Linked DNA regions of Homo sapiens: region 1 is linked to region 2. Evidence: promoter capture Hi-C in 16 types of primary human blood cells and fetal thymus (Javierre and others, 2016). All regions are on one chromosome and are shown on one strand. Each heading gives the region's core, a stretch centred on a gene start or on the middle of the fragment in contact. The rest is flanking DNA. Distances are from core to core; before and after follow the strand shown.

What was found. Contacts are between HindIII fragments. The CHiCAGO score rates a contact against its expected background, and 5 or more counts as called.
Region 1: a contact is called between a fragment that was not itself captured here and the fragment with the promoter of SKIL in region 2, in 1 of 17 cell types (fetal thymus). The highest score is 5.7, in fetal thymus.

What each region holds. Positions count from the first base shown.
Region 1 is chr3:171,456,469-171,461,889 of GRCh38, reverse strand. It overlaps TNIK (TRAF2 and NCK interacting kinase), which reads left to right and starts at 1,485. Exons shown (of 33, transcript NM_015028.4): 1 at 1,485-1,883. The coding sequence starts at 1,827. LOC124906303 (a long non-coding RNA gene) reads left to right here and starts at 3,719. Exons shown (of 2, transcript XR_007096168.1): 1 at 3,719-3,944. LOC102724479 (a long non-coding RNA gene) reads right to left here and starts at 2,672. Exons shown (of 3, transcript NR_189068.1): 1 at 2,499-2,672. RefSeq lists an enhancer at 284-784 and a silencer at 1,796-1,855. The HindIII fragment of the contact is 3,387 bases long and covers 1,786-5,172 here.
Region 2 is chr3:170,354,338-170,359,456 of GRCh38, reverse strand. It overlaps SKIL (SKI like proto-oncogene), which reads right to left and starts at 1,742. Exons shown (of 7, transcript NM_005414.5): 1 at 1,694-1,742. RefSeq lists silencers at 1,160-1,229, 1,320-1,449, 1,500-1,729, 1,890-2,789 and an enhancer at 3,070-3,169. The HindIII fragment of the contact is 9,771 bases long and covers 194-5,119 here.

The DNA.
Region 1 (5,421 bases), core at 2,230-4,729, 1.1 Mb before region 2:
GTTTACATACAACGTTTACAGGCAAAAGCTACCAAACTGTTGTGGCCATTGAGATGTTGGAACAATTTTCAAGTTTCATGGTGCATGATCCACAATGCATATGAATACATACAATATCAGTAACAAAAACAGTACAATGTACACCAAAGGTTGTTTCAAAGTCCTCTAATGTCTGCAGTCATGATGAACTAACTGCACTGGCTTTCATTCATTCATTCATAAGACTTATTTTGAAGCTGATCTTCATACTGCATGATTAAGAAACCATCAGTGCAGTGGTCAGAATTACATTCTGCTGTTAACAGAGGAGCAAAGAATGCTTTCAAAGCTACTGCTGTATTTGGAAAAAAGTTCAGTTTTAGTGTTTTCTTTCTAGGTATTTTGCATGGCTAAGGCGGGAGAAGAAGGGCTGCGCGGGGATTGGGGGAAGCGACTTCCCACTCTTGATTACAGAAGGAGAATCATGTATACCACTGTAAAACATCCAACCTTTAAATGAGAAAGTGAGTGAAGTGAAATCGCTCTCACGTACACATCTTCCGCGTTACTTCTTATCCGCCAGCCAAACTTTCTCCATCAATCTGGGTAGGTCTGCCACGAAAACGCAGCCTGAAAGAAATGCTGAGTCCTGAGGCGGCGTGTGTTGCCTCACCCAGTGTTGGCTTTGGAGTTACCTGAAGCCTTCTAGCTACTGCACCCAGAGAGCAAGCTTCTCGTTTCAACTCGGTTGTTTCCGTGGGGAATTGCGGCACGAGCAAGTCCTGGGTGTGGCGATGCCAAGAGAGCGCTCAGATCTCCCATCTTTCCCGCTTCTGGCAAACCTTCCCAGCCCCGAATCGGCGAGTGACCAGCACCCGGGATCAGCCGTCCGGCATTCCGGGGACCGCGGGTGGACCCGACCCCGCCGCAGCTGCAAACTGCCGAAGCGCCCAGCTGGGTGCACTGTGCGTGTGCGCTTCTTCCCTACTCTTTCCGCGCCTGGAGGCGGATCCCCTTCCTTGCACACAAGTCCTTATATGCACCGGTTGCACCAGCCCGCGTTACTCCGGCCCCACAAATAATTAATGGGGGAGGGAGGGTGTCGCTTTTTTTTCCTCCGGCTTTTTCTCAGCGCGAGAGCATTTGAACCGAGGAGAAACCCCAAGACGCGACTGAAGGGCCATTTTGCTGCAGTGCACGAATTGGCCACACAAAAATAGAGCTTGGGTCCCTATGATAACAAGTCAAGGTTCAGGAACAGCCCCTTCGGGTTCGGCCCGAGGAGCCCGCAAAAGCCTGGGCGGAAAGGGTGCGCGCCCCTCCCCCCTCCACGCTGGTGCAGAGGGACCGGGTCAGGAAGCGCGGCCTCTCCCCAGTCCAAGACCACGCCTCCTCCGCCTCCCCACTCCCCCTTCACTCCTCCCAGGAAGCGGTGATAGACAGTTCTGCGTGGTTCTCCACCCCCACCCTCCCCCTGCTGAGTGGAGGAGTTGATGTGTCTCATTATAACAGCCAATGCAGCCGCCATCCACGCACAAGCAAAGAAGCATGTCCCATTTAAATACACCCACGCAGCCCCAGCGCCCTTAGCCGATCGGGGCGCTCAGCCCACACGCACCGCTGCTCGGGGCTTGGAGATCCGCGCAGGCTGGGCTCCCGGACCCGGCGGACCGACGCGCGGAGGATCGGGATCCGGCGCTGTGGGGCTGGGGTGGGCGGGGGAGGCTGGGCCCGGGGCCTCTGGCGCGACACCCGCATGAGGACGCGAGTGAAATAGACCAAGGTGGAATTTCCAAGGGAAAAGCTTCGGGGTGGTTTTGGTCCATTTCTCCAGCGAAGAAGTAGACATGGCGAGCGACTCCCCGGCTCGAAGCCTGGATGAAATAGATCTCTCGGCTCTGAGGGTGAGCAGGACGTTTTCTGGTTTCTTTCCAGTGGTTTGGGTTAGGGTGAATGGGCTCGGTGCGTGGACTGGGGGCTGGGGCTGGGGCAGGGGGACAGCAGCGGGAGAATGCGTCGGGGAGGGAACCTGGATTCCCGTTTTGATTCGGGGTTGCTGAGGTGCTCCTGGCTGAGCCCCTACGGCAGGGGCTGTGCGGTACGTGTCTTCCTCTGGCCGTGGCTTAGGCTCTCCCGAGGGCTCGTAGAGCTTATGCCAGTTTCATCTTATACCGGTGTAAGAGCATTAAAATGAAAGGCGTGTGTGCGTGTGTGTGTGTGTGTGTGTGTGTGTGTACACGCCCCGGGCAGTTGTCTGGTGCCAAGGCGCGAGACCCGACTGTCCCTTCTGCAAAAAGAATGCCAGCGTGAATAAAGGCACTGGCCCCTCACGTTTTCCAGCTACCTGCAAGATGACATTGTGAGGCTGGCTGTCCCCGCGAAGCCGAACCTGCCGCTCCAAGGGGGCAGTTATTGCTATGCTGGTCTTGTAGATGGCAACTGCCTCCCCCTCCCCCTTTTCTACCTCCCGCGCCCGGGCGCCCTCTCAGCGCTCCCTTAAATGCCAGTCTGCCACTCACCTTTATTTATGGCTTTAACTCAGCCCTGCCTGTTCTTTCTGACTTTGTGGCTGTAACGTTTCAGTTTTATGGCTGAACTTAAGCAGGTGAAAGGGATGTGTTTTCTGCTTTTCCTCAATCAGACCGGAACTCCCTGGAGTGTGTGCGAGTGTGTGTGTGTGTGTGTCTGTGTGTGTTTTCCCCGTGTCTGTGGCCAGTCCTTTGTAGAGCACCTCCCTCCCCCCAGCCCCACTGGTTTGCGTTTACCTTCACGTGAATTACCTCAGACGCCGTTTCATTGTATTGACTAAGACATCACTGATATAGAATCCATTTTGCTGTTGTTTTGAGATCAGAATACCAGGAATCCAAGTGCTGCTTCGACGCTTCCCCACCCCCAACTCCCGATCCCAACACACTCCTTTGGGGAAGGGGGCAGAGCTTTCTTGCCATTTTAATTAGATGCTGCCTGCCTGGAAGGGGGTGAGGGGTGGGGATGGTGGCAGCAGCGGGTGTCTGAGAAGGATTGGACACCAATTTAAGGACTGCTTCTTCCTCTCCCGAACCAAAAATAAAATTAAAAAGAAAGCGAGTGCATATACTTGATGTATGGAGGGTGGATGAGAAGGAATTCATGGTGGCTCTCTACAGGGAGACACCAGGATGGATGAAGCATGGAAGTTCACACGCCCTCCTGAGGAATACATTGTTAGATTGATGCTGAATCTTGGGGCCATTTACCTGGATTCCTAGTACTTCTGACATTGCCGCTATCTGCACTGATATATTAAAGTGCTACCTTTGTGATCAAAGTGGTACTTTCTCTTTGGTCTCCTTAATTAAACCTTTTCCTCCACATCTCTTTGAATAAGTCTTTCTCTCTTCGTCTTAATCTGTTGGGCTAAGAGATGAGGTTTCAGCAAGGCAAGTAAGGAGTTGAGAAGAAACAGAGATGCCGTTTGAAATGGGCTGTTCTGATAGTTGGGCAGCCAAAGCTCATTCATGCATTATTACAGGAAGCTGTCTATTTCCCTGGAGTGGAAATGCCACATCAAGAACCGGCTGCCCCCTGCGCAGCGGGGTGGGGTTGGTAACAGGGTGGGTGCATTGGCCAGGTCTGTGGCTTCCTGCTTTACCGACTGTGTGTGTTCATTTGCCCTACTTTCTACGCTGGGAGTTGCTGCCGGCGAGTTAATCAGGTGGATGGATGGCCCCGACTGGGGGTGGGGTGCTGCGAATCGGTCGGAGGTCGGGGTGGGGGGCGGGAAGTGGCAAAGGGGGAAGGGGTCTGAACAATGCGCAGGGCTTGCGGTGATTTCCCTGGGCCGGAATCTCGACCTTGCTCCTCTACTGGAAAGCAGTCTGATGTGATTTTAAGTTGGGCCGGGACTTGTCCCTTATGGGCTTTTTCCTCGGGAAGGTTTTCTGAGATACCAAGCACGGAGCCTGCAGGCAGGGGAGCAACCGGTGAGGGCCCACTGGGCGGACGACTGCGGTTCACACTTGGGATGTGCTTTCTTGTGATCTGTATTTTGAAAATATATCTTTGCACAATTCACTGAAATTGCTCTTTGTGGCCTGGGCTATCAGCTTAGGGCTCTGCTTCTGTTTTTCTGCCTGCTGGGAGGTGTGGAAACAGAGAGGGCAACAGCTAGCTTGGGGACCAGGAACTGCTGGCTAGAAGACTTAGATGCAGATGTGGAGACAGTTATATCCTGGAGGGCCAGGGTCTTTGACCAGTCTTGTGGGTGAGGTGTGTCTGCTGGAGTGGGTCCAAAGGCCACATAGGTAATCTCCACAAATCAGAGGGCAGATCATCTCCACCTTGCCACATTTGGAGAGGTGGCCTCATCTAGATGAGATGTCTCATTTGTTCCTAAGCCCTTGGTAAAGTCTGCCTGCTGAGCCCCTCCTGGGGAATGCCTGACCCCTGAAATGCAGCCAAGGTCAGTGGCTTCTGGGAGAATTTGCTGCAGACTTACCAGTCCCTCGCTGTTTCGGTGGCTCTTTAATGTACACAGTCAATGCTCTTTTTGTAAACCCTGGGCTCAAAGCATTAAAAGCAGATCCTGTCTAGAGAGGCCTTTATCCTTCTCACTTTGGGGGCTTATTGTTCTCAGCCAGTGATTCCAGACCGGACCCAGTCTAAATTTTCCCCAAATAGCAACAATGCATAATTTAAACCAGAGCAACCAATGACAGCACTGATCATTTAAATTATGCAAGATTTGCATGGTTTAAAAGTGAGTGAAGCAGGATCTTCTTTGGTTAGAAAATAGGTACTTTGAATCCAGTTTTAGCCCTGATTTTTAGAGCTCAGAGATAAACTAAATCTTGAGGGATGGGCTGGAATTGTTTTATAGATTCAGAGCTGGAAAGAGAATTGTAGAACACTCAGCCACTCCTTTCATTGAACACTTGGGAAACTGAAGCCCAGAGGCGTGAAGTAAGTTGTTCAAGGTCACACAGTAACAAGGGGAGGGGACAGCGAGGAGCGTGGTTTGAGGAAATAATCTAGATTTCCTGACTCCTCATTCAGTGCTCTTTTCTCTAAGTCACACTTTCTGTGGTGGAATCAGAAATCAATAATACATTTTCTGCCTGAGTACAAAAGAATAGCAGAAAGGAATAATTTCACCAGGGTCAGGGAATTTTATTTATTGAGAATGGCGAAACTACTTCATGCAAGTAAGCTTGTGATACATGAAACCATGGAGCTCTAGGCCACCTTTGGAATTCATCTTGTCCAGCCCTGGTTCAATGCCTACTCTGCAGGCAAACGACTGTCTGAAATCACCTAGGACACATGGTTGTCCTGCACAGGTAACCTCTCTGAGTAACCTGTGTCCATCAGAGCATGTCTCAAGGGGTCAGTATAAACATACATGTTATTCAGATGGCTCTGCATGTGAGGTTTATAGAGTTGTGTGTATGTTTTGTATTA
Region 2 (5,119 bases), core at 493-2,992:
CCGGCTAATTTTTTTGTATTTTTAGTAGAAACGGGGTTTCACCATATTAGTCAGGCTGGTCTTGAACTCCTGACCTCAGGTGATCCGCCCGCCCGGGCCTCCCAAAGTGCTGGAATTACAGGCGTGAGCCACCGCACCCGGCCGAAATCAGTTTCTTAATCTTAAACTGAGTTCAGTTTACCAAGGTGAAGCTTGAGTGATTTCTTTAAATCTAACACCAGTTTACTAGAAGAACATTCATTTAAATAGGAAAGCAATTTGGAGTTGCGTAAAGCGAGCAATAATATAACATAAAAGGCCTTTCGAGTTCAGAATATGAAGACTCTTAAGCAGATCATCTCAATTAGTAGTACCGGGGCTTTCTCAGCTATGCCATTTTAAGGGAGGGAAAAAAATCCATTACTTCATCTCCTATTTAAAAACAAAACAACAGTTTCATCCAAAAAAATCAGATAGGAGTTAACATATCTACCATATGTAACTAAGTTACAATTTTAAGTGGATTAATTCAGCTAGTCCGTGTACACTATTTTTCTGGAATGACTGCAGGCAAAAATTAACTTTCTCTTAAAAAAAGGTTAGCGATTTTACTTAATGGAAGCCAAAAGCTATAGACTCCACGCCTGGGAATCTCCATCCTTCAACAAGACTAATCCGGGACAAAAAGCACAAGGCAGACAAACCTCACAAAGAATGCAAATGGAGGAAGAGGGAAAAAGAAAAGACTCTTTTTCCACTTCCTTCTTGAGAGAAAAGCCAAAAGAAATCCAATAAATAGAAATTTTTGCTTCCCAAACTCTCAGCACTTTACCTTAAAACAGACCCAAAGGATTAAGGACCAATGCCACCAACCATCGTACAGACTTTCGTCCACCACAGGAACACACCTTACTCAACACAGGCCAAGGAAGAGAGCAAGAGGCATGACCTAGAATGGGGGAGCCCCTAAAACCCTGAAGTCCTCCGCCCACTCAAAGCCACCCACCTATCTCTAACCCGGAGAGAGGGAGAACAAGGGACACGGGAAGCCTGGGGGTGGGTGTGCAAGGGGGTGGAGGGAAGTAAAGGGAGGAGTCCCCCCACCCCCACCGGCGAGCCTGGGATAACCCCAAGTGCCCTCCCAACACCGCCCCCCCGCGGGGGCCGCGGGAAGGACTGTGGAAATCCACCCCCCCGCGCACCCTCTCCCTGGGAAGTTCTCGGGTGTCACCTCAGCGCCCCTAATGCTGCACCTCCCCGCGCCAGCCCCGGGCCAGAACGAAGAGGACACCAGGGCAGTTTAGGCGCCGGGCGCGGATCCCTGCGCCGCCGGGGGCTGACGGACCGGGTCGAGACCAGGGCATCCCCGCGGAGCGCTGCTGGACTGGGGGAGGGGGGCGGTGACGGGCGTCCGGGTCTCCGGGGTCCCCGCGGCTCCCGTCAACTACAGCGCCCTGCCCTGCCGGCGCCCACCGCCTGGGGCCAACGAAGCGTGATCAGCCGTGGAACACCCGCCTAGCGACCCCCTCTGGCCCCGACCCCACCCGGGACCCGCGCATCCAAACCCCCTACTCGGGCCTCGGTGCCCGGGTAAGCTCGACGAGCTTTGTGAATTCCCCACCGCCCCTGTCGCCGCCGTCGGGCTCCTAGGAGGGTGAGCGCCTCTGGCCTCCCGCCGCCTCCGCCGCGTCGCCGCCGTAAGCCGGAGCCGCACCTGTGCCCGCCGCCGCCGCCGTCGCCGCTCGCCCGCTCCCTTCGGCTGTGCCGGCGCGGCTCCGAACCCCACACACATCGCTACACACAGCCCTCTGACGTCACCGAGTCCTCGGCCCGCCCACGTCACTGCGGAGACACACAGCTTCCCGCAGACGCCGCCGCCGTCTCCGGCCGCCCGGGGGAGAGCGAGGGCGGCGGGGAGGGGGAGGGGAAGGGAACGGAGCCAGCGGCGGCGCCGCGCGCGCGGGCCCGCCGGCGTCGTCGCCGCCGCCGCCACTTCGCGGCTCCCGGCCCCCTCGTGGACGCGCGTGCCGTCTGGCCTATTGTGGCTCCTCAGAGCGCCCCCCTGGCCCCGTCGTCTCGCGCGCGTGCCCCTCCCCCCAGGCGCGCGCCCGGCGCTTCTGGCCCCGCGCGCCGTCTGGGAAGCTGGCGCGCGGCGCTGTCTGCGGTGCACCCGGCGCAGACAGGATGTTCCCTCCCCACCCCACCCTCACCGCCGCCCTCCCTCCTTCCTTCCTCTAGTCGCCCAGCCGGCTGTCTGGGGCCACCGCCCCGCCCCCGCCCCACCCGCCGCTCTGTGGTGATGGGCCAGACGCGGGGGCGCCCTGGCCGCTCGGACGCCGCGCAGCGGGGAAGAGGGGGCAGGGCAGCCGCGCGGTGCACTGTGCGCGACCCCAGCAGCCGGCAGGGCGGAGGCAGTGCCCGCCCGGCAGAGTGCCGCCGCCCGAGGTCAGGCACGGGCGACCCTCCCCCTGCGGGGCCGCAGCTGGGCCGCCCCGCCCCGGAGGCAGCCGGGCGGCGGCCGCCCTGCAGGGCCCCCGGGGCCGGCTCTGCTCCCCGCCCCCGCGGGACCTCCCTCCTGGGCTGCCCCTCGCCCCCGCGGGGCCTCCTGCCCGAGGGCCGCCCAGCCAGCTGCCGGCGCTCCGCCCCGCCCCGGCGGCCCCGGCCTCGCCCGGGCGGCCTCCACCCAGACGCCTTCCCCTGGCTGACCTCCATCCGCCATCGGGCCGGGCGGGAGGGGTGGCCAAAGTTCCGGCAAAACCGAGAGCAAACATTTCTGTCCCTACTCCCCAGCCTCCTGCCTCCACCCCACCAGGCTGCTCTCTCGGTTCCAGAAGGGAGCTATAAATTAAAGGTTTTTACAGTGTTTACTGAGGGTGTTTTTTTGTGTGTGTGTTTTTTTGGAGAGGGACGAGACGAGGTAGGGAAGATAGGACTCAAGAGCTTTCCGGCTGTGACCCTCTGAGGCGTGTAGGGTGGTCTTCCTGGTTCCCAGGGTAGCCGATTAGCATATTGAACTCTGCAGAGCTGCTCCGTCACATTTCGAAACACCAAGAAATCCCCTTTTCTCCACCCCACCACAAGATCAGGAACTGAAATAGTCCACCGAGTAGCAGTGCACAAAATTCAGGAGACTCGAGCTTTGTCCCTTTTTTCCCCCCCATTTTCGTCCAATTTCTTCTAGTTTTACTGCTTCGGGTTGTTCCTGTGGGGGCCCACATTTGCAGTCGGCCGGCTGGAAATACTCTTGTGCTCGTACTTTTTATTTTTTTTTTCCTCACAACAGGCCTCCGAAAGGCTCACAAGCCTCTCAATCCCCACCACTCCCCGCACCCCCACCCAAGTTCCCTTCCTTAGGCCTCCACCGCCGAGCTCCCAGGTCGTGCCCCCTCTCCACCCCGCCCCCCCACCTTTTCTTCCTTCTTGACTGCCTCCTTTCCTGAACATGAATAATTCCACAGCACTTTCCATCTGTTATTGCCATAGAGACAGAAGCGTGGCAAAGATAATGATGTTCTGTGCAGAGCCAGTGGGGGAAAAACAGCATCTGCGAGTCTAGGGGGATAGATTTTCTAACTGTGAGAATATTCAGAAGGCCTAGCTGAAGATCTGATGTGAAGACTGGACAGTCCTGAAACTTGGCACCAGGTCAACTCTCAGCACCTGGCTCCTGTGTCTAGCCAGAAGTAACAATTTTTAGAAACCAACATGACTGGTTAATAAAAAAGTAATTCCAAAACTGCAATTATTAATAAATGTTTAGCAGTCATTTTACCAGCCATAAGAATAATTACTTGCTAGCATGTCCAAGGACGAAGATAAATTGGACAGTAAATAGACTTTTGAGAAATCAAACACATTAATCCGCCTCCCCGTTCTGTTGATTTGCATTCCTCAGAAATCTGTTTTTGAGAGATCTTTCATGCCTGTGATTTTAAGTGCAATGGTTTGACAAATAGTGACCGGCAAATATGACTAGAACCAATCAAATTTGAGGGCATTTATTTTTCCCTTATTGGTCAAAGTACAAAATGCATCAAATTAAAATCATTTTGTCCTTGAATTCCCAAACCTCAAAGGTACGCGTTTGAAAGCAAGTGAAACTGAACGGGGTCCATTTATACATAGATCTGAGGCAGATGGGGAGGCTCACAGGAAGGCACATTTTTGCAGGCCTACTTAAGGATTTTCAGAAGTTATCAGTAAAATTGATTGTATGTATCATACGACATTGAACACAAATGATAATGGTTCTTTATTCCAAATACAGAATTGCACAGACACAGAAAATGCAGGCCTTAGAAAAAATAAGCACTGCGAGGTAATGAATTTTGTAATTCCACAGGCTCATGGTCTTCATCAGTGTCGAAAAGTCAATTAAAGGATTGGTCAACAAATAGTTATGTAGTTATTAGGTGGATTTTGCATGACCTCCCACCTCACCTTCTTGGCTGCCAGCAGGAGTTGAGCAAGACCACCATGAGAGTGTGCTTGTCTGCGCATGAGAATTTCAAATGATTGGGGGTGGGGACTACCTATTGTTTCATCTTCTTCCATTAAATAGTACAGATACAAGATCCAAATTAACTGGTACTAGGTAGTCTAGAATGTCTTCTTCGTTAATTATGGCTGTCTGATAACAGAGACCAAGAATGGAGAGGTTACAAACTCGAAGGCCAGCTCTGTTCTGTGACCTGATAAATAGTTTGAGGCAAATGCTTTTCTTTTGTCTCCATTTACTGATCTGTTGATAATGACCCACTAATATTAATTACAAAGAAGATGGAAATGAGAAAGGATAGGGTAAGATGCAAAAATTCAACATAAATTATTTTTATTTTTATGAAGGAGGGGGAAGAAATTCAAATGTTAATTGAGCATGCAAACACTGGCTTGTGTTTGCATTTACACCTTCTGCTCTTTTCCAAAGAAAAGAAACCAGTTATGGTCTCTGATGGTCCTTCTGCCAAAGTCCTCCTTCCTTGAGCCTCGATTTAAAAAAATGTGTTTAAAAGGTTTTGTTTTGTTTGTTTAGCAGCAAGTCAAATGCTAGGAGGTCAGTTTCACAAAAGAATGTCAACCATTTCCTTTTCCATCTCATTTTTTTCCTGTAGCTTTTCGTTAATTTCTTTTTTTCGGAATT